4 separate regions of the Homo sapiens genome follow, and regions 1, 2 and 3 are each linked to region 4. The links are contacts of gene promoters, found by promoter capture Hi-C in blood cells and fetal thymus (Javierre and others, 2016). All regions are on one chromosome and are shown on one strand. The core of a region is centred on a gene start or on the middle of the fragment in contact, and the rest is flanking DNA. Distances in the headings are between cores, read along the strand shown. Region 1 overlaps EFCAB8 (EF-hand calcium binding domain 8). Region 2 overlaps EFCAB8 (EF-hand calcium binding domain 8). Region 3 overlaps EFCAB8 (EF-hand calcium binding domain 8). Region 4 holds the start of BPIFA3 (BPI fold containing family A member 3).

Region 1 (7,370 bases), core at 2,374-4,873, 330 kb before region 4:
CTGACCGCTCTGCTCACTCCTCCTCCTCGTGGCTCCTCCACCCGCTGTGCCCACTGAACCCTTGCTTTGCAGGGGAGGAAAACTGTCTTTTCCCTCTACCCATCTGAGGTTCATTGGCAGGGACCTCTCTAAGCGAAGACAGAGTCACAAGGACAAGCATACAAGTTTATTTAATATAAGTTTTACATGACACGGGAGCCTCTGTAGGAAATGAAGCCCCTAAGAAACAGATAACCTGAGGGTTTTCATGCTAGGTTCAATGGAGGGTGGAAAGCTGTGGAAAAATAAGATAGGACAGAGGGGCGATGAGCCAAGCGTAATACATGGCGGAAATAGCAAGGACGTTAGTTCAGATTCTTGTCCGTGTCCCTGTGTCTTTGGGCACCCCTCACATGAGTCTTATGACCGGCTTCAGGGGAAGGTCAGACAGTCCTTCCTGAACATACTGCTTCTCAAATTCCTTTAGTTTAACAGACTCAGTATGCTGCGGTGCCCTATTTGGGGGTAGCATCTCTCAGACCCCTCAACCTCTTCTGTCTGTGCCAGGGGTTGATCTGCCTCGCTGTGTGTTCCTCCCCCTGGACTCCCTAAGCATGAGGAGCATTGCAGGGGCTCTGACCTGCTGGGCCTGGGCTGCCCGGGTCACTGGATCCCTTCCTGCAGTCCACCCTGGAGCACTGCTGCCTGGGGCAGGTGGCCAGGCAGGGAGCTGGGTCCTGAGATACAAGGTGTGGCAGCCTACATTTGTGACCAGGTCAGGAGGGAGCTGTGGGTGGGTCTGTCCTAAGAGGACCAGACCCAGACCAGGCCACGGGGAAGTCAAAGAGCTGGAAGGCAGCCCCGGTCCTCAGGCAGCCTGGGGTTTAATAGAGAAGGCGGCTTGAATGAAAGTCACCCAAGGGTAACTTTTTTTTTTTTTTGAGACAGAGTCTCACTCAGTTGCCCAGGTTGGAGTGCAATGGCTTGATCTTGGCTCACTGCAACCTCCGCCCCCCGGGTTCAAGCGATTCTCCCGCCTCAGCGTCCCAAGTAGCTGGGATTACGAACGCCTGCCACCATGCCTGACTAATTTTTTTGTATTTTTAATAGAGATGGGGTTTCACTGTGTTGGCTGGGCTGTTTGTGAACTTGGGGCCTCAAGTAATCCGCTCACCTTGGCCTCCCAAACTGCTAGGATTATAGGTGTGAGCCACTGTACCCGGCAATAACTTAAAACAAAATTTTGGTTGGGATTTAATTGAGAAATAACCAATAAATATGAATGATAAGAGATTTCATAACTGTATTTTTTAAACATTTACTGGTTTATTATAAAGAATATTACAAAGGATACAGATGAACAGATGTGTAGGGCGAGGTATGGGGAGAGGGATGCACAAGCTTCAGGAACCTCCGTGTGTTCAGCCATAGGGAAGCTCTCAGAACCCAGTCCTCTGGGGTTTTTAGTGGAAGCTTCATGACATCAGCATTCCTGCCCCTAGGGCATAGGGCAGGACTCTGGGGCTGTGGGAGTTAGGAACTGTGGGCAAAACATATATATATATAAAACACCACAGGCCCCCACTCCTGGTTTTTGAACATAGAGAACACAGCTCCCTTATAGCAAAAGAATACACAACTCAAAAGATACTGGCACATTCCTAGAGTCCCATTTAGTCATTAATAATTCATCCCATCCATCATAGTATATGAATGTCTCCCAGGCTGAGGCCATTCAGGTTTGTAGGCTTCCTTTCAATCTTGTCAGGTTCCAAAAGCCGGAGTTGGCTTGGCAAATAAACCTCTCAGGCATCTGGAATCATTGAGCTAAGAGACAATGTCATCTCTCTTTTCTTTTTTTCTTTTTTGAGATGGAGTTTTGCTCTTGTTGCCCAGGATGGAATGCAGTGGTGCGGTCTTAGCTCACTGCAACCTCTGCCTCCCGGGTTCAAGTGATTCTTCTGCCTCAGCCTCCCAAGTAGCTGGGATTACAGGCACCTGCTACCATGCCTAGCTAATTTCTATGTTTTTAGTAGAGATGGAGTTTCACCATGTTGACCAGGCTGGTCTCGAACTCCTGACCTCAAGTGATCCATCCACTTCGGCCTCCCAAAGTGTTGGGATTACAGGCGTGAGCCACCGCATCCAGCCAGTCATCTCTTGCTCTGAGAACTCCTTCGAGTTGTTGGTGTAATACTGGATTTCTCTCCATTTAATCCATTTATTAATCTTTACCCTCAGCTAGTATTCCTCCTTTTCTCCATTTGTCATTTATTTTTACCCAAACTTTTCCTCCTTTGCAAGGGACATCGGGTTCAGCCACTGTGCCTATCTGGATCATTGGTAGCAAAGCTACTGTAGCGAGTGCCTCCCCTCAGTCCATTCTCATTCATAGAGAATAGGGTTACACGAGTTCCAAACTCGCGAGCCATTTTTACCATGAGACAATATAGCTGTATTTATTTTTAACCCCCATTTTGCCAGATGGGATGAAGGCGCAATCCACCCCCATCAGGCCCTTAGGGAATTCTGACAACGTTTTAAAACATGGTGACTGTTTCTTGCTTAGAAATTATCCCTGCCCAGGCATGGTGGCTCACACCTGTAATCCCAGCACTTTGGGAGGCCAAGGTGGGTGGCTTACCTGAGGTCAGGAGTCCTGGCCAACATGGTGAAACCCTGTCTCTACTAAAAATACAAAAATTAGCTGGATGTGGTGGCAGGCACCTGTAATCCCAGCTACTCGGGAGGCTGAGACAGGAGAATTGCTTGAACCCAGGAGGCAGAGGTTGCAGTGAGCCGAGATTGCGCCATTGCTGTCCAGCCTGGGCAACAAGAATGAAAACTCCGTCTCAAAAAGAAAAAAAAAAACAGCATGCAAATGCAATTCAGCCCACTGAGGCTGATCAGTTTCTACCTTCTTTGCTGCAAGTGGCAGCCCTCCAAACAGAATATCGTCCATTCACTTTGAAACTGTAAACCCAGCATTTCCTCGTTGGTCACTTGATAGCTGTTCACGGCACACTGTCCAAGTGTCGACAGAACCCAGCAGCACCTCACACAGTTCCGGAATCAGTCCTGGGGTAAAGAGGCTCATAGCCTGTGAGTATCTCTTGCTTGCATTCCCCAGGTAGCAAGATGCTGAGTAAACCATTTCCATTTTATTGTATTTATTTTTTGGGATTTTATTTTTGAGACAAGGTCTTGCTCTGTGGCCCAGGCTAGAATGCAGTGGCATCATCTCAGGTCACTGCAACCTCCACTTCCTGGGTTCAAGTGATTCTTTTGCCTCAGCCTCCCGAGTAACTGGGATTACAGGTGGCCGCCACCACGCCTGGCCGATTTTTTGTTGTTGTTGTTGTTGTTTTGAGACAGAGCCTTGCTCGGTCGCCCAGGCTGGAGTGCAGTGGTGCAATCTCGGCTCACTGCAAGCTCTGCCTCCCGGGTTCATGCCGTTCTCCTGCCTCAGCCTCCCGAGTAGCTGGGACTACAGGCGCCCACCACCATGCCCAGCGATTTTTTTGCATTTTTAGTAGAGACGGGGTTTCACCATGTTAGCCAGGATAGTCTCAATCTCCTGACCTCATGATCTGCCCGCCTCGGCCTCCCAAAGTGCTGGGATTACAAGCGTAAGCCACCGCGCCTGGCCTAGTTTTTGTATTTTTAATAGAGACGGGATTTCACCGTATTGGCCAGGCTGATCTTGAACTCCTGATCTCAGGTGATCCACCTGCCTTGGCCTCCCAAAGTGCTGGTATTACAGGTGTGAGTCATTGCGCCTGGCCAACCATTTCCATTTTATTATGGAATTTCTGGCCTCTGTAGGCCCCATTAGAGCATTTCTCTGATATCACCCAAGACATCTGGGTATTTCAGGTTTCAAGATAATTTTATATCCTTCAGTCGTAGGGGTAGCTTCAGTTAATGTCCCATAACAAGGTAGTAAATGCCCCTCAAGAGGACATTCCCTAGTCCAAAGTCCCAGTAGCTGTTGCCGGGAGGCGCTTACAGGCTTTTGTCGTAAGCCCCAGGAAATGCTCCACAGAGGGCTATCCAGTGGAGAATTTGTCCCTGCCAGCTCTCTAGCTTCTACTCTGCACTGTGTGGGCCTGGGCAATCTTACTGGTTCCCATGTAGCATGTCCAGTTCATATAGCTTGAATGGCGATTTACATACCTCTGTTTTATAGCAGTAGGAAGGGGAGACATTCCCTAATTAGATATAGTGTTCATTCCCATGATACAATCAGATAAAAGCAACCATTTGAACATGAAGTATGTTCAAATACATAACTGTACATTTTGGCATGAACACATTGCTTAATAAGGTCAAGCCTTCACTGGTCTATTTCTTTTTTTTTTTGGAGACGGAGTCTCACTCTGTCACCCAGGCTGGAGTGCAGTGGCGCAATCTTGGCTCAGTGCAACCTCTGTCTCCCGGGTTCAAGCGATTCTCCTGCCTCAGCCTCCTGAGTAGCTGGGACTACAGGCGTGTGCTACCACACCTGGCTAATTTTTGTATTTTTAGTAGAGATGGGGTTTCACCACGTTGGCCGGGCTGGTCTTGAACTCCTGACCTCAAGTGGTCTGCCCGCCTCCTGACCTCAAGTAATCCTCCTGACCTCAAGTGATCCACTCACCTCAGCCTTCCAAAGTGCTGGGATTACAGGCGTGAGCCACTCTGCCCGGTCAGGTCTTTCTATTTCTTTGGGCCATTTAGATCTCAAGGGTGTTTAAAGGTCCTGAAACAGAATGTCAAGAGGCTTGTTCCTATATTCTCCTATTTATTTGTTCAACCTACAAACCCGGAGAGCATTTCCAACTTGGTGGGGAAAATAAATGAGTAATATTTAATTACCTTCATGAAAGAGTAACTTAAAACATTGGCTTACCTTTACTGAGCCTGGGCCGGGTGCACCAAATGCAGCCTCTCATCTGATCCCATCACAGCCCTAGGAGGTGCAGGTGCTGTCATCATGCAGGTGAGGAAACCAAGTCCTCCCTGAGATGGCCTGTCCTTAGGGCTGTCTTCCCTTTTCCTAGCTGTCACCTATCATCCCATTCTGCACAGTCTTTGGCCCTGACAGAAGTGGCAGGGTTGGAAGAGATGAGAGGGCAACTGAGAATATTCATCACAATCTACCCAGAGCCATGGGCTGAGGATAGGAGAGAGGAGAACCGTGTCCAGACACGTTTCCCTTGCTCTTCTGCAGAGATGGTAATGGCAGTTGAATTTTCACAGTGGCTTGGGTTATCCTTAAGCCCAGGGTCAGACCAGGCCTACCGGATTTGGAAAGGGCCCTGGAGGAGGGGTCACAGTGCCTAGGTTCTAGTTCCAGCCCTGCTAGTAAATAGGACATAACTCCAGGCAAATGATTATTCCCTGGGCCCCTGTAGGATGAGGTAATATCACCTGCTCTGCCAGGGCTCAAAGATTGGGCAGATCAAGTAGGAGAGTGTGTGCCATGCCATGCCATGTTGGGAAGCTGGAGTGGCAGGGACTCTCAATGGCCAGATAGCTGGCTTAGCCCACTTGGGTGCAGGGAAGCAACCCACAGAGGGGAGCATCAAAGCCTGTATGAATGCTCAAGGGCGGCCTCCTGCGAGGCCAGGCCTGCCCCCGGAGCTGTTGGCTGTAGGTTTGGTGTGTGGGACCCTAATTCCCCACTGCTCCTTGTCCACTTTGATTTCATCCTTCGGTTCTGTTCCCCCCTCTACCCCAGAGCACTAGAGCAGTTGCTAGAAAGTGCTGTTTCTCAGTTTTCAGCCTCAGGCTCCACTCTGCTCACCCTCTCCTGGGCAGTTTTTCCTATGATAGAAGCTTTGCGAACAACCTCCGTTCTGTCTCCTCTGTCCCATCACGTCGCGAGGAGGCTGGCTGGCTACTTCGCAGGATAAGCCTGCTGCTTCTCACTTCTGGAGCCCCGCCTCATATCAGCTTCTACGTGGGGCCCTTTTTCTTTTGGCCACTGTTGATGATCCAGTAGAAACCCGCTTGGAAGAGCCAGCTATGGGTTTATGGCGTGCGCATGTGCGTGCGTGTGCGTGACGCTCCGCCGGCTTTTGTCCCTCCTCCTCGGTGGCTCTCTGTTCTGCCGCAGGTGCCCCCTCCCTGAGCTGTTTTTGCTTGGGCTCTTCTCTCTTTCATCGCCTCCCACAGGAACCATGGCTGTGAGGTGGTGAAGGTGGTGTTTTTAATCCACCGGTTCAAGAAGATCGGGTGTTTCCTGACTGTCACCAAAGACGGGATCCTGCAGTTCTGGTCTGAGTCCTTCTCGCTGATGAGCTCCTTTAGGGTGAGTGGGGCCCCTACACATGGTGCACACATGGGTGATTGGAGAGCCTCTGCCTTAGCACCCCCATGGTGAAGGTGACCTGGAGCCAGGCAGATTCATGGTCTAAGCAGCCTGGACTTGCAGTCACAGCACCTGGGTCCTGACTTGGCTTCACTGTGGGAGCCACACATTTCCCTTCTGCTAAGCAGGATTCCACCTGGATGTCCATTCCCTGTGGGTGTCTCACAGGCCCCTCAAATCCATTAGCCCAAACAGGTGTCCCTTTAGCTGTCCCTGCCCACCAGGTTTCCTTCTCTTGCGTCCCCATCTCAGTGAATGGCATTGTCATCCCCAAGACTCCTGTGCTAGGGGTCAGCCACTCCCACGCTGTCCCCACGTCCTACCGATTCAGGCCTTTTGCCTAGTCCAGGCAGGAAATCATAGTGGTTATGAGCATGGGCTCTGGAGCCCAAATCCCAGGGTCAGAGTCCTAACTGTACCACCTGCAAGCTCTGTGACCTGGACAAGGTACTATATACTCCCTGTGCCTCAGTTTTCCCATCTGTCAAATGGGGCTAGTTACAGTGCTTCTTTACAGTCCTTTTGGGAACACATGATGACATAATACATGTGTAGTGCTTGGGGCAGGGCAGGGCACGCAGCAAGTCCCTGCTGGATATATTGTCTTTGTGCTGCCAGCTCTTGGCTGAGAGTAGTAAGTGAGAAGATGCTCAGGAGAACCCACTGTGTACTTGGTCGCCAGGGCCGTCCAGAATCCTCCAGCAGACGAGGAAAGCACTGCTCTCCAGGGCTCTACAGAAAGGTTGATTGAGAACACAGCCCCCAGATGAAGGGCTTTCTGAGCCTGTGTAACTGCAGAGTGATTCACAGTTGCATCAGGGCTCATCCTTTGGGGAAGAAGAGGCCTGGGTGGAACTAGGGTCTGTGGGGTCCCATGGCTCTCCTTGGTGCACCAAGGGGGAGTCACGATCACCATCCTGAGGCTGTGGCTTCCATAGCCATCCACCTTACCTTTCTGTGTGTGGACTGGGGCAGGGTGTGTTGCAGACAGAGCTCCTGCTTGTGGCTGCTACATGGTCACCAAAGCACCTCCAAA
Region 2 (7,013 bases), core at 3,366-5,865, 290 kb before region 4:
CAGGCCTGTGCCCCAGCAGGTGGGAGCGAGAGCCCAACCAGAAGGCTACCCTCACTCTCTAGCCGCCGGCGTTCACACACCGTCTGTGTGTGTGTTTTCTTATTGGGATGTACTTTTTCCAAAGTGCCTTTAGGTCCCTCAACTCACTTGTTTTGAGCATTGTGGGCCTGGGCAGGGCACCCTCTGGTTTTAGTCCCAATGTATCTATCCTGGAGCTGGGGCTAGGTCCCTTTCCAGGGCATGGCTAATACCAGCCCTAAAAGTCTGAAAGCTGAAAGGCAGGACCCAAAGAGAACACAACCCTGAAAACCTAAAATTGGATGTTAGATCCTGGGCTGCATTCTCAGTCCTCAAGGGCAAGTCACCTGACCTTGGCCCAGGTGCAGAGGGAGCCATGGGGTCTCACCTGCTTGGAGACCAGGCTGTAAGAGTCTGAGACCCAGACACAGACAAACCACTTTCCTCCTCCTCTGAGCCTCATCTCTGCCCCAGGACTAGCCCTTCCAAGAATGGCTGACAGTTCTATTTTGCGGGGAGTAGGGAGAAAGAGCAGGAGGAGTTACTGTTTCCCTACTTGCAGGGGATGGCTTGCCTTTGAACTTTCAGCAGTGAGTACAGTATTCCAACAATCAGTGCAATAATCTCTTGTATGGGGCAGGAGGAACCAGTGAGATTGTTCTCGTAGTCAAAATCTGATTTCCATTCCTGGGAGCTGAGGCTTGAGTGAGAAACACCACCGTCCCCAAACACACAATAATTGCTAGGCATAGGGCAGTCTAGACCTAAATCCAACATGGTCTGCTAGGATATAATTTTGCTGTAAGACGTGTACACTTGACCATAAGACATTCATACCATCTTTGAGTTATCAGAGGTTACACCACTGTTTTCAAATCTTCTAGGGAAATGGGTGCATAGGTATATTTGCCCCTCTATCCTTATTTTTATTTTTATTTTTTGAGATGGAGTCTCACTCTGTCACCCAGGCTAGAGTGCAGTGGCGTGGTCTTCGCTCAGTGCAACCTCTGTCTCCTGGGTTCAAGCAATTCTCCTGCCTCAGCTTCCCTAGTAGCTGGGATTACAGGTGTGCACAACTATGCCTGGCTAAATTTTTTGTATTTTTATTGGAGACGGGGTTTCACCATGTTGGCCAGGCTGGTCTCAGACTCCTGGCCTGAAATTATCTGCCCGCCTCAGCCTCCCAAAGTGCTGGAATTACAGGTGTGAACCACCACGACCGACCTTTATCCTCATTTTTAACCAGGATGGTCTCTTCCAGGACAAAGGAAGCATCTTCCCCAGAGGCAAACTCAAGTCTCTGCCCCAATTTTGCTCTAGCAAAATTGCTGGGAGCTTAAAGTGGAGGTTTCCGGGATCCACTGAGCGCTGCTTTTCCCAGGCCAGTGTACCTACTGCGGGGGCTTGGGAGTGCCGCTCTTTTATCATCTTCCTCTGGTCTCTGGTCCCCTATGGGGAAGGGAAACACCCTCATGGTGACTTGGGTGCCCATCTTTCTTTCCAGAAACCTTCCAGTGCTTCTGGCACATCCAGGCAGTCAAGCAAGATCCACAGCAAACAGTCCATTTACAAAGAGGATGAAACGAGAAAAGGAGAATGGCAGAAGAATATGTTGGTTCAATCCAGTGCCTCGGTGGAGAAGGTTGGCCGTGATCAGCCAGGGAGAGGGATATGAGCTGGGGAGTGGGCGGTCAGGATTGGGTGGTCAGGATGGGGCTCGGGGGCCTGGGCTCGGGGCCCGGCCTGATTCTCCCCAGTGCCCGGAAGGCATCTTGGAGAGGATGGAGACGCTCAGGATACTGGAGTCAGGGCTGCGGTGTCTGGGGAGAGCTCCTGTATTAATTCGTTTTCATGCAGCTGATAAAGGCATATCCGAGACTGAGAAGAAAAAGAGGTTTAACTGGACTTATAGTTCCATATGGCTGGGGAAGACCTCACAATCATGGCGGGAGGCTAAAGGTGCTTCTTACATGGCAGCAGCAAGAGAAAATGAGAAGCAGCAAAAGCGGAAACCCCTGATAAACCCATCAGATCTCGCTGAGACTTGTTCACTATCATGAGAATGGCATGGGAAGGACCAGCCCCCATGATTCAGTTACCTCCCTCTTGGTCCCTCCCACAACACGGGGGAATTCTGGGAGATACCATTCAAGTTGAGATTTGAGTGGGGACACAGCCAAACCATATCAGCTCCCAAGGAGGTGGAGTTGGGGTGCCTAGGGAAGTGAGCAGTGTCCCCTCTGGATTGGGGGTAACAGTGTCCCCTCTGGGAGGGGAGGTAGGGAGGTAGGAGAAGGGGCATCTCCAGACTCTAGTTAGAATGCCCTCCTGTTAACTGGAAGGGTGTTTTATACCGAACACGAGTTGGGTATGGGTTCATCTTTGTTCTTCCTACTGTACCTTCCCCTTTCTGACCCTGGACACCCCTCACTGTGATACTGACTCCCCGTCCTGAAAATACAAATCATAGTTGAGTTAGGGTGTGGCTGGCCTGCCCCATCACCCAGGTCCAGGGACCAGGACTTGAGAACAAGAGGGCAGTGCCCTGAGAGCTGGGTTTTGCAGTGTTGGGAGGGAGAGCAGGAGTGGCTGCACACTCTCCTCCAGGTTCTGATTATTTCTCTCTCCTTTTTTTTTCTTGAGACAGGGTCTCACTGTCACCCAGGCTAGAGTACAGTGGTGTGATCACAGCTCATTACAGCCTCAACTCCTGGGCTGAAGGGACCCTCCCACCTCAGCCTTGTGAGTAGCTGGGGCTATAGGCATGCTCCATTATGCCCAGCTATTTTGTGTGTGTGTGTGTGTGTGTGTGTGTGTGTTTTTGTAGAGATGGGGTCTCACTATGCTGCCCATGCTGGTCTCGAACTCCTGGGCTCAAGTGATCCTCCTGGCTCAGCCTCCCAAAGTGTTGGGATTACAGATGTGAACCATTATACCCAGCCTCTTCCTTCTCTTTAAAAAAATACCTTAGATAACTTTTAAAAGTAATAATACTAGTTTATAATAAAAAAGGAAGTGTATGTAAATGAAAAAATAAAAATAAAAGTCCCCTATATCTCACTCACCCTATCCCATCCCACTCTCAACAGCAGCATTCGCTGCTAACAGGTTGGTTTTAGCCTTGTACTTTTTTTTTTTTGACTAGTAATATAAAATGATAGCTATGTCCTGCCATATGCTTTTTTCTGTAAGTCTATAGCATGGATATACTTTCATGAGAGGGATTTAGATTCATCTTATTCTTTTGTTACCTTATTCTTTTTTTTTTTTTTTTTGAGACGGAGTCTTGCTCTGTCACCCAGGCTGGCGTGCAGTGTTGCGATATCAGCTCACTGCACCTCTGCGTCCTGAGTTCAAGTGATTCTCCTGCCTCAGCCTCCAGAGTAGCTGGGACCATAAGCATGTGCCACCATGCCCAGCTGCTTTTTTATTTCTAGTAGAGTCGGGGTTTCACCATGTTGGCCAGGCTGGTCTTGAACTCCTGACCTCAGGTGATCCACTGGCCTCGGCTTCCCAAAGTGCTGGGATTACAGGCATTAGCCACCACACCTGGCCATCTTATTCTTTTTAACAACTGCCCACTGCTGCATAACTTGGATGCATCAGGAACTGTGAAGCTGGTCCTCTATGAATAGGTCTGTGGGTTAGTTCCAGTTTTTAGCTTTTAGGAGCAGCACTGCATTGAACATTCTTGCACGTACATTTCTGGGCACTAGTGTGAGTATATTGAGAGGACGGATTCTTGGAAACAGAATTGCCAACAGATCCCATCTCTTTAAATCTGTGAAGTCAAGGTAGATGGCTCAAAGCTTGATCTTTTGGGCTAGTGACCTAGTGCTGTCAGGACACAGGCATTCGCTACATGCCAGCCGCTGGGGAAGGAGCAGTGAATGAAAGATATCAAGCCCCTGACCTCTGGAGCTGTCATTCTAGTTGGGGCAAGATAGACAATTAACCAGCAAATAAAATAAAGGGCATGTCACAGAGTGAGTGAGGACAATGGAGGACAAGAAAGCCGGGAAGATGGCAGGGAGAACAGACATGGGAGGAGATGGCATTGCTGTTTTATGAATAGGCTGGTCAGGGAGGGCTTCACAGAGGAGGTGGCATCTGCATAGAGCCTGAAGGAAGCGAGGAAACATGGCCTGCAGTTATTTGGAAGGAGGGTGATGCAGGCAGAGAAGGTAGGTGCAAGGGCCCACATGGGAGAGCTGGCATGGAATGTTCGAGAATGAGTACTTCTCTCTCTCTCTCTGTATCTCTCTCTGATACTTTCTTCCTCTAATTAGAAAGTGATACATGTCCTTAATTAAAACTAAAAAAATTCAGGCCAAGAGCAGTGGCTCACATCTGTAATCCCAGTCCTTTAGGAGGCCAAAGTGGGAGGACTGCTTGAGCCCAGGAGTTCTAGACCAGCTTGGGCAACATGATGAGACCTCATCTCTACAAAAAATTAAAAAAATTAGCCAGGTTTGATAGTGTGCACGGTGCACCCAGCTCCTTGGGAGGCTGAGTTGGGAGAATCACTTGAGTCTGGGAGGTCAAGGATGCAGTGAGCTGTGATTGTGCCACTGCACTCCAGCCTGGGCAACACAGCTAGACCTTGTCTCTTAAACAAACAAACAAACCTGGCCCAGTGCGATGGCTCACACCTGTAATCCTAGCACTTTGGGAGGCTGAGGTGGGCAGATTGCCTGAGCTCAGGAGTTCGAAACCAGCCTGGGCAACACGGTGAAACCCCGTCTCTACTAAAATACAAAAAATTAGCCAGGGGTGGCAGCATACTCCTGTAGTCCCAGCTAGTCGGGAGGCAGAGGCAGGAGAATTGATTGAACCCGGGAGGCGGAGGTTGCAGTGAGCTGAGATCGTGCCACTGCACTCCAGCCTGGGTGACACAGTGAGATTCGCCTCCAAAACAACACCACCACCACCACCTATGAAAAAAAATGAAACTTTATACGAGTGTATAAAGTAAAAGAATGGCTGTCTCCCTCCTCAGCCTCCAGAGGTAATTACGTTAAGACATGTGTTGTAGCCTTCTAGAATTTTTTTGTGCATATACAAGTACATACATGTATGAATGTATATATATAAATCTAGATATTTTTCACTGGATAATATCATATTGCATGTATTATTCCGGGACTTGCTGTTTTTCACTTGACTCCTCACGGGCATCTCTTCATGACGGTGTTTACGGAGCCATGGCATTCCTTTTACTAGTCACATCATGTCCTGGGTACACTGCACAGAGTCTGTATAGCTATCTGCTGCCGCTGGGTTTTGCCTCTATAGAAAGCATTGCAATGAATACCCTTGTACATAAATTTTGGATCTCTTGTCTATTTCCAGATATAAAACTCTAGGATTAGAAACATACTCCTGGAAAGCTTTTGCTATCTTGCATTATGTTTCAGTGGTAGCTAGTAATTATTGAGCTCTCAATATCTGCCAGACAATGAACTTAATGGTTTACATGTGTTATTTTTTGTTTTTTGAGACAGAATCTCAGCTCTCTTGTCCAGGCTGGAGTGCAGTGGCACAATCACAGCTCATTGTAGCCTCCACTTCCCAGGCTCAAGCGATTCTCCCACCTCAGCCTTCTGAGTATTAATAGCTGGGACCACAGGTGTGTGCTACTGTGCCTGGCTCATTAAAAAAATATATATTTATAGAGATGGAGTCTCCTTATGTTGCCCAGGCTAGTCTTGACCTTCTGGGCTCAAGCGATCCTCCTGCCTTGGCCTCCCAAAGTGCTGGGATTACAGGCATAAGCCACCATGCCCAGCTACATGTGTTGTTTTTATTTTGTCCATCAAACAGCCCTGGGAAGTATGTACTATTATTATTTATTTATGAGGGATTTTTATTTATTTAATACATCTGAAAAGAATGTATGTGAAAAGAATGTTTAATACATCTGAAAAGAATGTACTATTATTATTATTCCCATTTTATGGCTGAAGAAACAGGCCCAATGAGGTGAAGTGACTTGCCCAAGATTCTTATGGCCAGAAAATGGCAGAGCCAGGGCCTGATTCTAGGTCTATTTGTTTTCAAAGTTCAAGTTCTTTTAAGTTTTTGTGCTGCCACTGTTGGGAATTCCTTGGGCTTTTTACGTGGCCTGGTGATCTGTGTGTAATAAGGATTTGTATCATGAATCTTGATTGAATTTTTGGCCACAGAATTGCATGCAAAAGATTGAATGTCTATTGGTGAGATTTGAGGCACTGTGGCTGGCAGGGCTGTGTGTGTGTGTGTGTCCCCTCTGGATGCTGACCCTCACCCCTGGCTTCAAGATGTACTGTCTCCCACCCGCACCACTCCTTGAGGAGCAGGGTCCCTTCTCTCTGGGGCACTTGTGGGCACAGTGAAGCATTTTAGGGTGGTGCCCTGGAGAGGGTCCAGAGTGCTTGGGTCATCTCTGATCTCAGCCTTTCCTTAGTGGAAGAGAGGCTTGGGTGGGCTGGGGTAAGGACACCAGACAGGGAGTGGGTGGGGGTCTTACCTGTTGGGTCTTCCTTCCCATTATTTCTGTCTGGCCATCCCAGAAGACTGTGAGGCATGGCAGAAAGAGCACTAGGAAGGAGTCCAGGATGCAGATCCAGGCCCAGCTGTGTCCCTGACAGTCTTTATTTTTAATTTTACTTATTTATTTATTTTTGAGATGGAGTCTCACTCTGTTGTCCAGGCTGGAGTGCAGTGGCGTGATCTCAGCTCACTGCCACCTCTGTCTCCTGGGTTCAAGTGATTCTCGTGCCTCAACCTCCTGAGTAGCTGGGATTACAGGTGTGTGCCACCACACCTGGCTAATTTTGTGTTTTTAATGGAGACAGGGTTTCACCATGTTGTCCAGGCTGGTCTTGAACTCCTGACCTTAAGTGATCCTCTTGCCTCAGCTTTCCAAAGTGCTGGCATTACAGGCGTAAGCCACCACGCCTAGCTAATTTTGGGTTTTTAGTGGAGACGGGGTTTTGCCATGTTGTCCAGGCTTG
Region 3 (7,162 bases), core at 4,120-6,619, 270 kb before region 4:
GTTGGCTGGGATGTGGACAAACTGGGACTCTTACACATTGCTGGATAGAATGTAGAAAGCTGGCCAGGTACGGTGGCTCAGGCCTGTAATCCCAGCACTTTGGGAGGCTGAGGTGGGCGGATTATGAGGTCAGGAGTTTGAGACCAGCCTGGCCAGCATGGTGTAACCCCGTCTCTACTAAACATACAAAAATTAGCAGGGCATGATGGCGGGTGCCTGTAATCCCAGCTACTCGGGAGGCTGAGGCAGGAGAATCGCTTGAACCTGGGAGGCGGAGGTTGCAGTGAGCAGAGATCATGCCATTGCGTTCCAGTCTGGGCAACAAGAGCAAAACTCCAAACTCTGTTTAAAAAAAAAAAAAGAAAAAGAACATAGAAAGCTGCAGTCACTTTGGAAAACAGTCTGGCAGTTCCTCAAAAATTAAGTGTAGACTTACCATATTACCCAACAGTTCCACTCCCAAGTGTATACCCAAGAGAAATGAAAACATATGTTCACATAAAATCTTGTACATGAATGTTTATAGTAGCATTATTTATAATACAAAAGTGGAAACAACCCAAATGTCAACTTCCAAATGGATAAAGTGTGGTATGGTGATACAATGGAATGTTATTTAATAATAAAAAGGAATAAAGTACTGATGCATGCAACAACATGGATGAACCTTGAAAATACTGTGCTAAGTGAAAGAAGCCAACCACAAAATACCATATATTGTGTGATTCTGCTTAAATGACATGTCCAGAATGTCCATATTAAAGTAGATTAGTGGTTTCCTGAGGCTGGGGGAGGGAGTTGGGGAAATTGCGTAGTGACTACTGGGTAAAGAGTTTCTTTCTGGGGTGATGAAATGGTCTAAAATAGAATGTGGTGGTGGTTGCACAGCTCTGAAAATACTAAAAACCATTGAATGAGCACTTTAAATTGGTAAATTTTTATGTGAATTATGATTCAATAAAGTTGTGTTTAGATATTACTAAAAATGATGGTACAAATATTCTTTTTCACAAATGTTTTTTGTTGTTGTTTATAGTTGTTTATTTGTACATCTAGTAATTTGTCCCAAGGAAAGAGTATGTAAAAGAACATAAGTCACTTTAAGGCCTTTAATGTATACTACAAAATTGCACTCTAGAAGGTTTATACAGTTTTGCATTTCATTAGCCTGTTTTTTTTATCTTTGACAACCTAAAGAATTTATTAGTGGTATTCATCTGAGGATCCTCTAGGTCTATCAGAGTGTCTTTCTTATAGAAGGCATTCAATAAATAAATGTCCTAAGTGAGCAAAACATTTTTGGTTGATTTTTAGGTGCAAATGGTTTCTTTTGATTTTAATTAAGATGCCTTTGTTTATTAGTGATGTTGACATATTTTCTTAATCTATTGGCTTTGTATAACTTTATGAATTGTCTCTTCATGTCCTTTGCCTACTTTTCTATTGTGGTAACTATCTTTTATAAATGTTGTATAATTATTTAAAAATACATTAGGTTGGGCATGGTAGATCATGCCTGTAATCCCAGCTCTCTGGGAGGCCAAGGTGGGCAGATTGCTTGAGCCTAACAGTTCGAGACCAGCCTGGGCAACATAGTGAGACCCCATCTCTAAAAAAAAAAACCAATAAAAATATATTAAAAGATTAACTGATTGTCTATCATATGGATTACAAATATCCCCCCCAATTTGTCATTTGCTTGTTAATTTTATTTATGATGACTTAAAAATTACAATATATTTTTTGGTGTTCAAGTCAGTTTTTGTCCCCATTGTGATATTTTCCTTTGCCTGTTTATCACTTTCTTAGAGAAAAGATAAATACTGATTCGTTCTTTTGTAGGTGTTTTATGATTTCATTGAAAATAAAATCTTCAACGCATCTAGTATTCATTTGGGTGTAAGATAAAAGATAACAACGTAGGTTTCTCTTATAGTTCATCAGGTATCCTACTACTGTTTATTGAGTCATGTTTTCTGTTACCACTCTTACTATATACCAGTTTTACATACATTTGGGTTGGTTTCTGAGCTTTCTATTGTCTTCCATTGCTTTGTTTAAAATTTAAAGTTTATTATTCTGACTTTCCATACTTGAATATGGTCGAATAAGTCCTCCTTTATTAATCTTGTTTTATTTAAAAATGGTCATTTTCACTCATTTTCCAGTTCAGTAGTTTTATTCTCTCAGTGTAATGTGATTTATCACCCCATTGCTCACCCTATTCATCTCCCAATACCCAGCTGAAAAACTTTAGAAGACTGAGGCTCTTGCCCTGGCCCCATCACTTTCTAGCTATGTGGGCTTAGGCTAGTTATTGAACATGTCTGACTCTCACTTTTCTCCTCTGTAAGTCAGTGAGAATTATATACTTCTTATAAGGTTGTGAGGTTCAAATGGAATAATGTGTACAGAGGCACTTGGTAAACAATGTAGTCATATGCAAGTCATATGCAAGTCATATGTAGTCAGCTTGGTGAATTTTGAGAAAGTAAATGCAAGTTCTTTTTATGGTTTTACCTAAGGGGCCAGTGAGGGCCAGAGAAGTGCCGGGACCTATGTAAGGTCGCAAGCAAGTTCATGTGGAATGCATCTAGAACTAGAACGCTAGCCTGTGTCCCAGGGCCCTTCCAACTGGGCTCTGCTGCCTGCAGTCCTGGGTGCCTTCTAATTAGCCTGTGTAGTGGTCTTGGTAAAAGTGTTTCTCCTGTACTGTCCCCTATAGGTTGTGGCTGGCCATACCATTTCCCTGGTTCCCCCCACGCTCCTGATGACCTGGAAAGGCCATTTGAATAGTGTGGCAGACATCCTGTATGTGGACAACTTCCAGCTGGTTATCAGCGCTGGCCAGGACCGGGACGTCAAGGCTTGGAAACTCTCCGGTGATGCCATTGGTATGGGTCCTGCTGAAGCTCAGCCATGCCCATGGCCCTTCTTGTCTCTGTCCCTGTCTGAACATAAGCTGGTATGAACTTTGTACTCTGTGGGGAGGGACTCTCAGGCCACAGCAACTGCCTTCACTTAAATAATATTACAGTCTGTCCAATTATCCATTCAGCAAACGGTCCATCCATTCACCCATCCACCCAATATTATTCACCTATGTATATTTTTGCAAATCATATATCTGATAAAGCATATTCCTTTCTCTTTTAAAAAATAAACTTAATTGTTGCATTGTATATAAAGAAAAACATACAAACCAGAAGGGTTCAGCTTGGTGAATTTTGAGAAAGTAAATACATACCCATATAGCCACCGTTCATGTCAAGAAATAATTAGGGCCAGGCGCGGTGGCTCACTACTGTAATCCCAACACTTTTTTGTCCCCTTTTCCTCCTGTGCTGTCTTCCTATGTGTTTGTTTGTTTGTTTTAGTGACCTGTCTCTACTAAAAATACAAAAATTAGCCAGGCATGGTGGTGCATGCCTGTAATCCCAGCTACTTGAGAGGCTGAGGCAGGAGAATCGTTTGAACCTGGGAGGCAGAGGTTGCAGTGAGCTGAGATCATGTCACTGCACTCCAGCCTGGGCAACAGAGTGAGACTCTGTCTAAAAAAAAAATAATAATAAAAATAAAGTGACTTATGTGCCACTATTACAGTATTACAGCATTCTGTATTTTTCTATGTGTTTACATTTATCAGAAAGCTTTGTATTTTCATATGCTTTCATGTTCCTGCCTAGCATCCTTTTGTTTCAACTTGAAGGGGTCCCTTTAGCATTTCTTTAAAGGCAGGTCTAATGGTGATGAACTCCTCTTGTTTTTATTTATCTGGGAAAATTTTTATTTTTCCTTCATTTTTAAAGGACAGCTTTCCTGGATATAGTATTTTTGGATGAGAGTTTTTGTTCTTTTTATAATGTGTCTCCTTGTGGATTTCTTTGACTTTATCCTAGTTGGAATCCCTTGAGCTTCTTGAATATAGGTTTCTTTTCCTTTTTAAGATTTGAAACATTTTCAGCCATTATTTATTCAGATAAGCTTTTTGTCCCTTTCTCTCTCTCTGTCTCTCTCTCCTCCTTCTAGTACTACCATAATGCATATATTGTCCATTTGACGATGTCTCATAAATCCCTTAAGTTTTCTTTACTCTTTAAAATTCTTTTTTCTTTTTTGCTTCTCTGACTGGATATCTTCAAGTCTGCTGATTTTTCCTTCTGCTTGATCAAGCCTGCTGTAGATGACTTTTGAATTCAATTATTTTACTCTTCATCTTCAGCTCTAGAATTTCTGTTATTTTTATTATTATTATTATTATTTTTTGAGACAGGGTCTTGCTCTGCCACCCAGGGTTGAGTGCAGTGGCACGAATTCAGCTCACTGAAGCCTTGACCTCCCAGCCTCAAGTGATCTTCCCACAGCCTCCTGAGTAGCTGGGACTACAGGTGCATGCCATCATGCCTGGCTAATTTTTTGTATTTTTTGTAGAGACAGAGTTTCACCATGTTGCCCAGGCTGGCCTTGAATTCTTGAGCTCAAGTGATCGCCCACCTAAGCTTCCCAAAGTGTTGGGATTATAGGTGTGGGCCACCATGGCTGGCCTCTGTTTGGTTCTTTTCTATATTTTCTGTGTCTTCACTAATATTCTCAGTTTGTTCATGTATTGTTTCCCTGAGCTTGTTGAGCATTTTTATTACGGTTACTTAGAATTCTTTGTCAAATAATTAATATACCTCAATTTCTTTAGCGGCAGTTTCTGGAGATTTATTTTGTTCCTTTGGGCCATGCTTTCCTATTTTTTTTGTGTGCCTTATAACTTTATATTGGGATCCATGCATTTGTAAAATCAGCCACCTCTCCCAGTCTTTATATACTGGCTTCATTCAGGGAAAATTCTGCACCAATCAGCTTGGCTAAAGATTCTGGGTGCCTCCCCAATCTTTTTTGTGGATACTTTCACCAGACTTACGCATGTAAATTCGCAATTACAGGAATCTACAGGTTTATTTTTTTCAGGAGTCCATTATCTCTTGCTCTCTCTGGTGTCTATTTGCAGTACTGCAAGTTCTCTAGAGCGGCTACAAGCTTCCCCCAGGCCTCTAGAATATGCTGGGTCCTTCAATAGTCTGAGAGAGGCAAGACAGAAACCAGTTTCTTGGGTACCCCTCAAAGGCTAACATTGGATATGTATGCTCCAAATCTGCCTCCTCAAGGAGAAGCTGGAAGTTGGGTTGTTTTCTCTACTCATTCCACAGAGCGGCAGGAGGGACTCTGATAGTGTGTGCTAGTCTAAATTGTCACCTTTGTTCTTAGTAGCCCAGTCTGGTGCCTCTTCCTGTCAGTGCTTAGATTCAGGCAAGACAGAAACTGGTTAATCATGCAGCCCTCTGAAAAGTCTGCATGTTGGATGTACATCTCAGTCTTTCCCTCCCAGGGAGAAGCTGGAAGCTGGTGGTTCCTTCCCAATCTGCTTCACTGAGCCAGGAGGAGGGATTACAAGTGAGCACTATGAATTTTCCTACTGGCTTCAGTGCAGCTGGTTTTTTGTTTTTTGTTTTTTTGGTTTTTGTTTGTTTGTTTTTTCATTCATCTGGGATGAATGGTCCTGGTTTCTGGTCCATGTACTGTTGTTCAGTCAGTGTCTCCATAGGGAGAAGGAAGTTCTGGATCTTCCTATTCTACCATCTTGCTGATGTCACCCATTTTTTTGTATCTTTCAAAGACGTCTTTGACTATCCCCTAAATATAATATCTAGTGTTATCTTTTAGAAGCTTGTTTTAAAAATCAGATTTCTGAAGTATAATTTACATCCAATAAAAGCACCTTTTAAAAGTATATAGTTCTGTGAGGTTTCATGAATGCATACAATTGTGTAATTGGTATCACAATCAAGACATAGACATTACCCCAAAAAGTGACCTCATGTCTCCTCATAGTAAACTCTATTTCCTTCTCCTAACCCCTGGCAGCCATTGATCTGTTTGTCTCTATAGTTTTGCCTTTTCCAGATTATCATAAATGGAAACATACACATGTAGCTGAGTGAAAGTCTAACTTTCACTTAGCATAATCAATTTGAGATTCATCTTTGTTGTTGAACGTATCAGTAGTTTGTTCTTTTTATTGCTGAGTATTATTCCACTGTATGGCTCTGTCATAGTTTGTTAATCCATTCACCAATTATAGGACATTTGAGTCATTGTCAGTTTTGGATGATTATGAATGAAGCCGCTTTAAACATTGTTTTCATTTCTGTTGGGTAAGTATTTAGAAGCAGAATGGCTGGGTTGTATGGTAAGTGTATTGAAACTTTATGAAAAATGACCAAACTGTTTTGCATTTCTACCTTTGTGTCTTCATCAACATTTGGTGTTTGATCTGTTATTATTTTAAATTTTAATAATCTATGATTGTAGCATGAGATTTCAATATTCTCTCAATTTATAAAACAACTATACAGAAAATCATTAATGATATAGAATACTTGAATAACACTATCAAACAATTTTACTTAATTAACATTTATAGATCATTCATAAACAAACATTATTTTTAAGTGCACACAGAACATTAATTAAACCGACCATATTCTGGTAACAAAACACATCTCACTAATCTCAAAAGGATTTATGCCATACAAAGTATGTTCTCTGATCCCAATGAAACTGAATTATAAATCAAAAACAGAAATATCTTTGAAATATCCCTAAATATTTGGAAGCTAAATGACACATTTCTAAATAACCCATGGGCCAAAAAAAGAAATCCAGAGGGAAATTAGAAAATATTTTGAACTGAATGAAAATGAAAATGTAACATTTCAAAATTTATGAGATGCCACAAAAAACAGTAGTAACGGGGAAATTTGTAGCACTAAATGCCTATATTAGAAGGAAAAAAGTTCAAATCTCCAGCCTCAACTTCCACATTAAGAAACTAGAAAGAGGTCTGGTGCGGTGGCTCACGCCTTTGGGAGGCAGGTGGGAGGATCATTTGAACCCAGGGGTTCAAGACCAGCCTAGGCAACATAACAAGACCCCATCTCAATTAAAAAAAAAAAAAAAGAAAAAAGAAACTAGAAAGAAAGAGCAAATTGAGCCCAAAGTAAATAGAAGAGAAATAATAAAGATTAGAATGGAAATCGATGAAACAGGGAAGTAAAAAATAATAAGGAAAATCAATGAACCCAAAAGCTGGTTCTTTGAAAAGATAGTTAAA
Region 4 (6,589 bases), core at 1,218-3,717:
TTGATTTTAGTGGTTTTATTCATTGAATGAATGACAGCAAAGCCCACCATCTGAACAGCCACGCGCAAGCTCACTCCAGGACCATCACACCCTCACTGCCATCTCAGCCTCTCTATCATTCCTGCCTGCCTTCTGGAGTTGCATTTCATTCGTGAAAGTACTTGATAGAGGTGGCTCCTGCATTCATTGCACACGTGTCCCAGGAACCATCTTGGGATTCTCATGCTCCATGTCACTGACTCCATCAGCTTCCCTGGTTTACAGGTGAGGAAGGCTCAGAGGCGTAAGGACAAGGAGGAGGATCATCATAATAACATGGTTTTGGAGGACTGGCCCAAGCATGATTCGCTTTAATCCTCACTATAGCTCTGAGGTCTGCACTGTGATCCTTTTACAGACCTGGGAGCTGAGTCTGCCAAGAGACAGAGTCAGCAGTTGAACCCCGGTCTGCGTGACCCTAAAGCACATACTCTGGACTGCATGTGATCCTGCACCGAGTTGGCTTCAAATCCAGTCCCCAGCCCCTGAGCAGGGCCCTCTCATCCCTCCAAATCTGCTCTCTCTTGTCATGCATCAAGCTCTGAAAATCTATACCCTCCATGCTGTCCTTTCATTAGGCTCTGTGGCCCTGAGAACCACAGCCTGTGATGAGGTAGGACCAACAGCTCCTGCCCCATGTTAAGATGTCCAAAGAGCCAAGGACAACAGATTTGTTCCTCCCGACAATGCCCACTCTTCTCTGTTTTCTTGACAATAAATAACAAAATTCCAACCACTTACATAAGACCAGGAAGGCTAGAAAAATACATTTTGAAGTAAGTGATATTCTACAAACATCCCCAAGGGGAGCATGAACTCTGAGAAAGGACCTCAAACAGGGAAAGCCAACACCCTGAACCAAGGCTTTCTCAGTACAATCTCTTACAAAACCAGAGTGAATTGCCCAAGAATAGCCCCAAGGCTTCTGTGAAATTTGCAAAGGACGTTCCCATCCCTCATCCACATGGGACCCTCTATGTCGCCCGTAGTATGGGGAAACAGCACAGGGACAGTGACAAACGCCTTTGTCTCAGAGCTCACAGCAATGGCAAGGTGGGGCCCAGACATCCGAGACCTGTGCTGCTGCAGTGGAGTGGGGAAGAGAGAGCTGCAGGCAGTGCGGTCCAAGAGGATGCAGGGACCCTCCTGGGCCTGGGAGGTGTTGCATGGAATGTGGCTTTTGCTCTGTGTGCAGTAGGAAATGCTGGAGGGTTTTGAGCAGAGGAGTGGCATGGTGGTCTACCTTACATCTTTTTTTTTTTTTTTTTTTGAGTTGGAGTCTTGCTCTGTTGCCAGGCTAGAGTGCAGTGTAGTGTGATCTCAGCTCACTGCAACCTCTGCCTCCTGGGTTCAAGTGATTCTGCTGCCTCAGCCTCACAAGTAGCTGGGACTACAGGCATGTGCCACCACACCCAGCTAATTTTTTGTATTTTTAGTAGAGACGGGGTTTCACCATGTTGGCCAGGCTGGTCTTGAACTCCTGACCTCATGATACGCCTGCTTCGGCCTCCCAAAGTGCTGGGATTACAGGCATGAGCCACCGCACCCGGCCTACCTTACATCTTAAAATGACTGTTCAGGCTGCTGTGTGGAAGAGATTGTGGGTGGGCACAGTTAAAAGCTGGGAAACCAGCCGGGACCCACTGGCAATAATTCAGATCAAGCTGATGGTGGCTGAGGAGTAGTTGTTATATGTGGTCATGTTCTGGAAGTGTCAGCAGGATCTCCTGACAGATGGGTTGTGGGAGATGGGAAAAGGGGAGGAAAGGGCAGCTCCACCGGCTGGGAGTAGAACAACTAGATGGACTTGGCACCATTTCCTAAGAGTGAGGACAGGGGACTTAAACTGAATTCTCTCTGAATCCCAACCCCAGGGCTCCAAGGTCAACCTGATGCTTTGGCTTCAAGAGTCTGTAATTCTTATCCAGAAAGATAAGATCCATCCATCCAGTTATTCATTCATTTGTAGCATTAACAAACATTCACCAGTACTTACCATGTGGCAAACATGGGAGGCACTGTAGACATGAGGATTAATTAGACTCATACCCTGCCCTCAAGAAACTCATAATTCAGAGGAGATTCAGAGATCAACCATCTCCACTCATCAATTCAGTCGTTTGGTCACTCAACAAACATTCATTAACACTCAATTTCTGACAAGCAAGTATCGTGGTAGGGATTGAAGTGGTTGGTCATGCCCTTAAGAAAGTCCTAACCCAATTGGAGAGCCTGGGGTTAGCCATCCTCACTCAAATGTATTCATTCATTGGTTCACTAAAGAGTCACTAACATCCAGCCTGTGCCAGGGTCTGGGAGAGGACTCCTGTTGGATGACCCAACAATAGACTCTGGTGAGTGTCTCCAAGCAACAAGGCCTCCCTCTGGAGCCCTGGCCTCCTCCCAGGGTTCCACATGTTGCTCTCCCAATGTGAGCAAGCCCTGGTGGCAGCGCCAGGGTCCAGTGCAGCCCCTCCCCACAGCATGCTGGGGGCTAATTCTGATGTCATCTTTCTGCAGAAAACCATTAGACCATCCCTCCAGACTGCCACCCTCAAAGCCGTCTGCCCAGGCCCCATCTGACACTCTTGACATCTGCAGGTCCCAGACCCTATGATGTGTCCACTCTGGAGGCTCCTCATCTTCCTCGGGTTGCTGGCCTTGCCCTTGGCACCACACAAGCAGCCTTGGCCTGGCCTGGCCCAAGCCCACAGAGACAACAAATCCACCCTGGCAAGAAGTAAGCTAAGCCCCGGGCTCTGCCTGCTGCCTACGGGGCTGGGGAGGTGGGAAGGTGCCATCTGGGCTCCACTGCTAACCCGCTGGGTGACTTCAGGTTAGTCACTTTCCCTCTTCTCTTTTTCTTAGACCTCAAGTACAGAAAATTGAGGTTGTGTTGATCATATGCCAATTTCTAGCACATCCTCATTGGCACAAATCACTGCAAGGTCCCCCTTTTGTTTTATTTTCTTATTTTCCCCCTTTATGACTTATTCTCACCCCATATCCCTACTGCCTTGGCAGGCATTGCAGCGTGTTTAATGGATGTACTTAAATATGCCTGTGTCCTTGTATGTACAGTACTTTAATTTACATAAATTGTATTGTACTTTAATTTACATAAATTGTATAGTGTTGGGTTTCACTCAGCACTATGCTGTTGACATCTATGTTGCTTCAGCTGGTGCAGAAAGAGCCATAAGATTCATCCACCTCAGTTTATTTGGCTGCTCCCCTCTGGATGGACATGCAGGTTGTCTCTAACTCTCCATGATTATAAACTACACTGAGATGAACCTCCTTGCAAGTGTCCCTGTTACAGCCTGTGGGAGAATTTCCCTGGGATAAACCCAGAAGGAGAGTGGTTGGGTCCTGGGGTAGAGGTGAACTCAATTTAACCAAAACTGCCAGAATCCTCTCTAGAATGGCTGTGTGGTCTACACGTGCTCCAGTAAGAAATGAGCATACCTGTCTCCCCATGTTCCCCAGCACTGCCGAGTACTGAGCTGTATCAGTCAGCTAGGGCTGTCCTCACAAGACACCACAGACTGGGAATTAAACAACACACATTCATTTTCTCACAGTTCTGGAGGCTGGAAGTCCAAGATCAAGATGCAAATAGGGTTGGTTTCTGGTGAGGCCTGTCTTGCTGGCTTGCAGACGGACACCTTCTCGATGTCTCCATACAGCCTTTTCTCTGTGCATGCAGAGAAAGAGATCTGTTTCTTCTTATAAGGACACCAATCCCATCAGTTTAGGGCCATACCCTAATGACCTCGTTTAACCTTAATTAGCTCTTTAAAGGCCCTATCTCCAAAGACAGTCGCACTGGGGGAGGAGAGGGCACAATTTGATCTATGACACTATTTTTCTACTTTTTTTTTTTTGCCAGTTTGATGTGTAGTTGAGTGATAACTACTTGTTTTAGCTTGACTTTATCTGGTGAGTGGGAAGTTTGAGCATCTTATACTTTTGTTAACCATTTTGACTTTTTTTCTTGGAGACAGAGTCTCACTGTGTCACCCAGGCTGCAGTGCAGTGGCATGATCTTGGCTCACTGCAACGTCCACCTCCCAGGTTCAAGCAATTCTCCTGCCTCAGCCTCCTGAGTAGCTGAGATTACAGGTGCATGCCACCATGCCCGGCTAATTTTTGTATATTTAGTGGCGATGGGGTTTCATCATGTTGGCCAGGCGGTCTCGAACCCCTGACCTCAAGTGATCTACCCACCTCGGCCTCCCAAAGTGCTGGCATTACAAGTGTAAGCCACTGTGCCCAGCCCCATTTTGACTTCTTTGAATTCCCTGTTCTTACCTTTTATCCATTTTTAAATTTGCTTTTCTGGGTTTTTTTAATCCTCTTTGACTTGAAGAGACATTACTTAATTCTTGACATTAGCCCTTTGTCAGATTTATGCATTGTGAATATTTCTCCCAAACTGTCATCTGTTAACTTTGTAGGTCCTTCACTGAACAGGAATATTTTCAAATTCATCAATATTTTGTTTTATAGTTTGTGTTTGGAAAGTCTTAAGACCTTGCTCCTACCTCAGACATATTCTACTTTGTTTTTTTCTAATAGCTTTATAGTTTTACCTTTCACATTTAAGATTTTAACCCATCTCTGGAGGCTATCTTTATGTATGCCTGTGTATGTAAGGCAGAGATTCAGCTTCGCTTCTCTCCATATGACTCAGTTTCCCCAACTCATCTACTAAATGATCAAATTCCCAAAAATGAGGATTCACTGCTGAACTCCCTATGCTGTATCTGTACATCTGTTTTACACCAATAACATAATATTGTAAATACAACATCTTTGTAAAATGCTGTTTTATCTGACAGACCTATATTCTTCCAAATGAATTTTAGAGTGTGTTGAGTTCCTTTAAAAAATTCGTCTGGCCGAGCACGGTGGCTCCCTAGCACTTTAAGAGGCTGAGGTGGGAAATCGCTTGAGCCTAGGAATTCAAGACCAGCCTGGGCAGCATATCAAGATCCTGTCTCTACAAAAATAAAATTAGAAAATTAGCCAGGCATGGTGGCACACACCTGTAGTCCCAGCTACTTGGGAGGCTGAGGTGGGAGGATCACTTGTGCCCAGGAGTTTGAGACTGCAATGAGTTATAATTGTGCCACTGCACTCCAGCCTGGGCAACAAAGACCCTGTCTCTTAAAAAAAAAAAAAAAATCAGGGCGGGCGCAGTGGCTCACGCCTGTAATCCCAGCACTTTGAGAGGCTGAGGTGGGCGAATCACAAGGTCAGGAGATCGAGACCATCCTGGCTAACACGGTGAAATCCCATCTCTACTAAAAATACAAGAAATTAGCCGGGCGTGGTGGTGAGGGCCTGTAGTCCCAGCTACTCGGGAGGCTGAGGTAGGAGAATGACGTGAACCCGGGAGGCAGAGCTTGCAGTGAGTGGAGATCATGCCACTGCACTCCAGCCTGGGGGACAGAGCAAGACTCCATCTAAAAAAAAAAAATAAGGCTGGAAATTGGATTGGAGTTAAAATGAATTTGTTAATTTAAAGAGAGTTGATATTTTAGACTTCCCAATCATAAATTTAGTGTATCTTTCCATTTATTCAGATTTTACTATATATCCCATAAGAGAATTTTAAAGTCCTATCAATGTATTGAGCATGATTTATTAACATGATTCCCAGAGAATTTATAGTTTTCATTGCCATAGTAAATGCTACCTAATCTTCTATTATATTTTCTAGTTGGAATTGCAGGTACAGATGGAAGGAAAGCTGTTGACTTCTTCTGATATTCAAAAGCCTTGCTGACCTCTTATATTTTTATTGTTTTATTTATTCTGTAGGTTTTTCTATCTAGGGGATTATATTGTCCATAAGTAGTAATAGCTTTATCTTTTCTCTTCTAAGCCTGACACTTCCTGTGCCTTTTTCTTATCTTGCATTGTAGCCAGAGCCTTCTACAGGAATGGAAATTAATCCAGAATTCCCCTACAAGTAAATTTTCTGTGGGTTTTTGGAATATAGTGTTTATCACATTAAGCCTGTTCCTTATGCCCCTAGCTTTATGAATTTTTCTTACTCATAAGTCAGTATTGACCTTTAACAAATGTTTCTCTGCATCTAAAAGTTAATCACTTTTTTCCTCCAACCTACTAAATGATAAATTGTATTAATAGATTTTTCTGCTGTTGAACCTTCCTAACACTTTTAAAATGAAAGTTTTTATGATGTACTGTTAGATTTTTTTTTTTTTTTTTTCAAATGGAGTCTTGCTCTATCACCCAGGCTGGAGTACAGTGGCGGGATCTCAGCTCATTGAAACCTCCACCTCCCAGCCTGGGTTCAAATGATTCTCCTGCCTCAGCCTCCCGAGTAGCTGGGATTACAGGTGCCCCCACTACCACGACCTACTGATTTATGTATTTTTAGTAGAGACAGGGTTTCACCATGTTGGCCAGGCGGGTCTCAAACTCCAGACCTCAGGTGATCCGCCCGCCTTGGCCTCCCAAAGTGTTGGGATTACAGGCGTGAGCCACTGCGCCTGGCCAAGATTTCATTAGCTAA

What was found. The method cuts DNA at HindIII sites, captures the fragments that hold promoters and counts their contacts. A CHiCAGO score of 5 or more calls a contact.
Region 1: a fragment that was not itself captured here is called in contact with the fragment with the promoter of BPIFA3 in region 4 in 1 of 17 cell types (naive B cells); the score reaches 5.4 in naive B cells.
Region 2: a contact is called between a fragment that was not itself captured here and the fragment with the promoter of BPIFA3 in region 4, in 3 of 17 cell types (M1 macrophages, M0 macrophages and naive B cells). The highest score is 7.3, in M1 macrophages.
Region 3: a contact is called between a fragment that was not itself captured here and the fragment with the promoter of BPIFA3 in region 4, in 2 of 17 cell types (M1 macrophages and M2 macrophages). The highest score is 6.6, in M1 macrophages.

The regions. Positions count from the first base shown.
Region 1 is chr20:32,879,367-32,886,736 of GRCh38, forward strand. It overlaps EFCAB8 (EF-hand calcium binding domain 8), which reads left to right. Exons shown (of 27, transcript NM_001143967.2): 6 at 6,139-6,274. Among named protein-coding and RNA genes, the nearest start is that of EFCAB8, 24 kb to the left of the region's middle. RefSeq lists a silencer at 591-768. The HindIII fragment of the contact is 4,347 bases long and covers 1,451-5,797 here.
Region 2 is chr20:32,918,556-32,925,568 of GRCh38, forward strand. EFCAB8 (EF-hand calcium binding domain 8) reads left to right here. Exons shown (of 27, transcript NM_001143967.2): 19 at 1-19; 20 at 1,523-1,660. Among named protein-coding and RNA genes, the nearest start is that of EFCAB8, 63 kb to the left of the region's middle. The HindIII fragment of the contact is 1,581 bases long and covers 3,826-5,406 here.
Region 3 is chr20:32,940,911-32,948,072 of GRCh38, forward strand. It overlaps EFCAB8 (EF-hand calcium binding domain 8), which reads left to right. Exons shown (of 27, transcript NM_001143967.2): 23 at 2,726-2,894. Among named protein-coding and RNA genes, the nearest start is that of SUN5, 60 kb to the right of the region's middle. The HindIII fragment of the contact is 687 bases long and covers 5,027-5,713 here.
Region 4 is chr20:33,214,885-33,221,473 of GRCh38, forward strand. BPIFA3 (BPI fold containing family A member 3) reads left to right here and starts at 2,468. Exons shown (of 7, transcript NM_178466.5): 1 at 2,468-2,779. The coding sequence starts at 2,653. The HindIII fragment of the contact is 14,014 bases long and covers 1-6,589 here.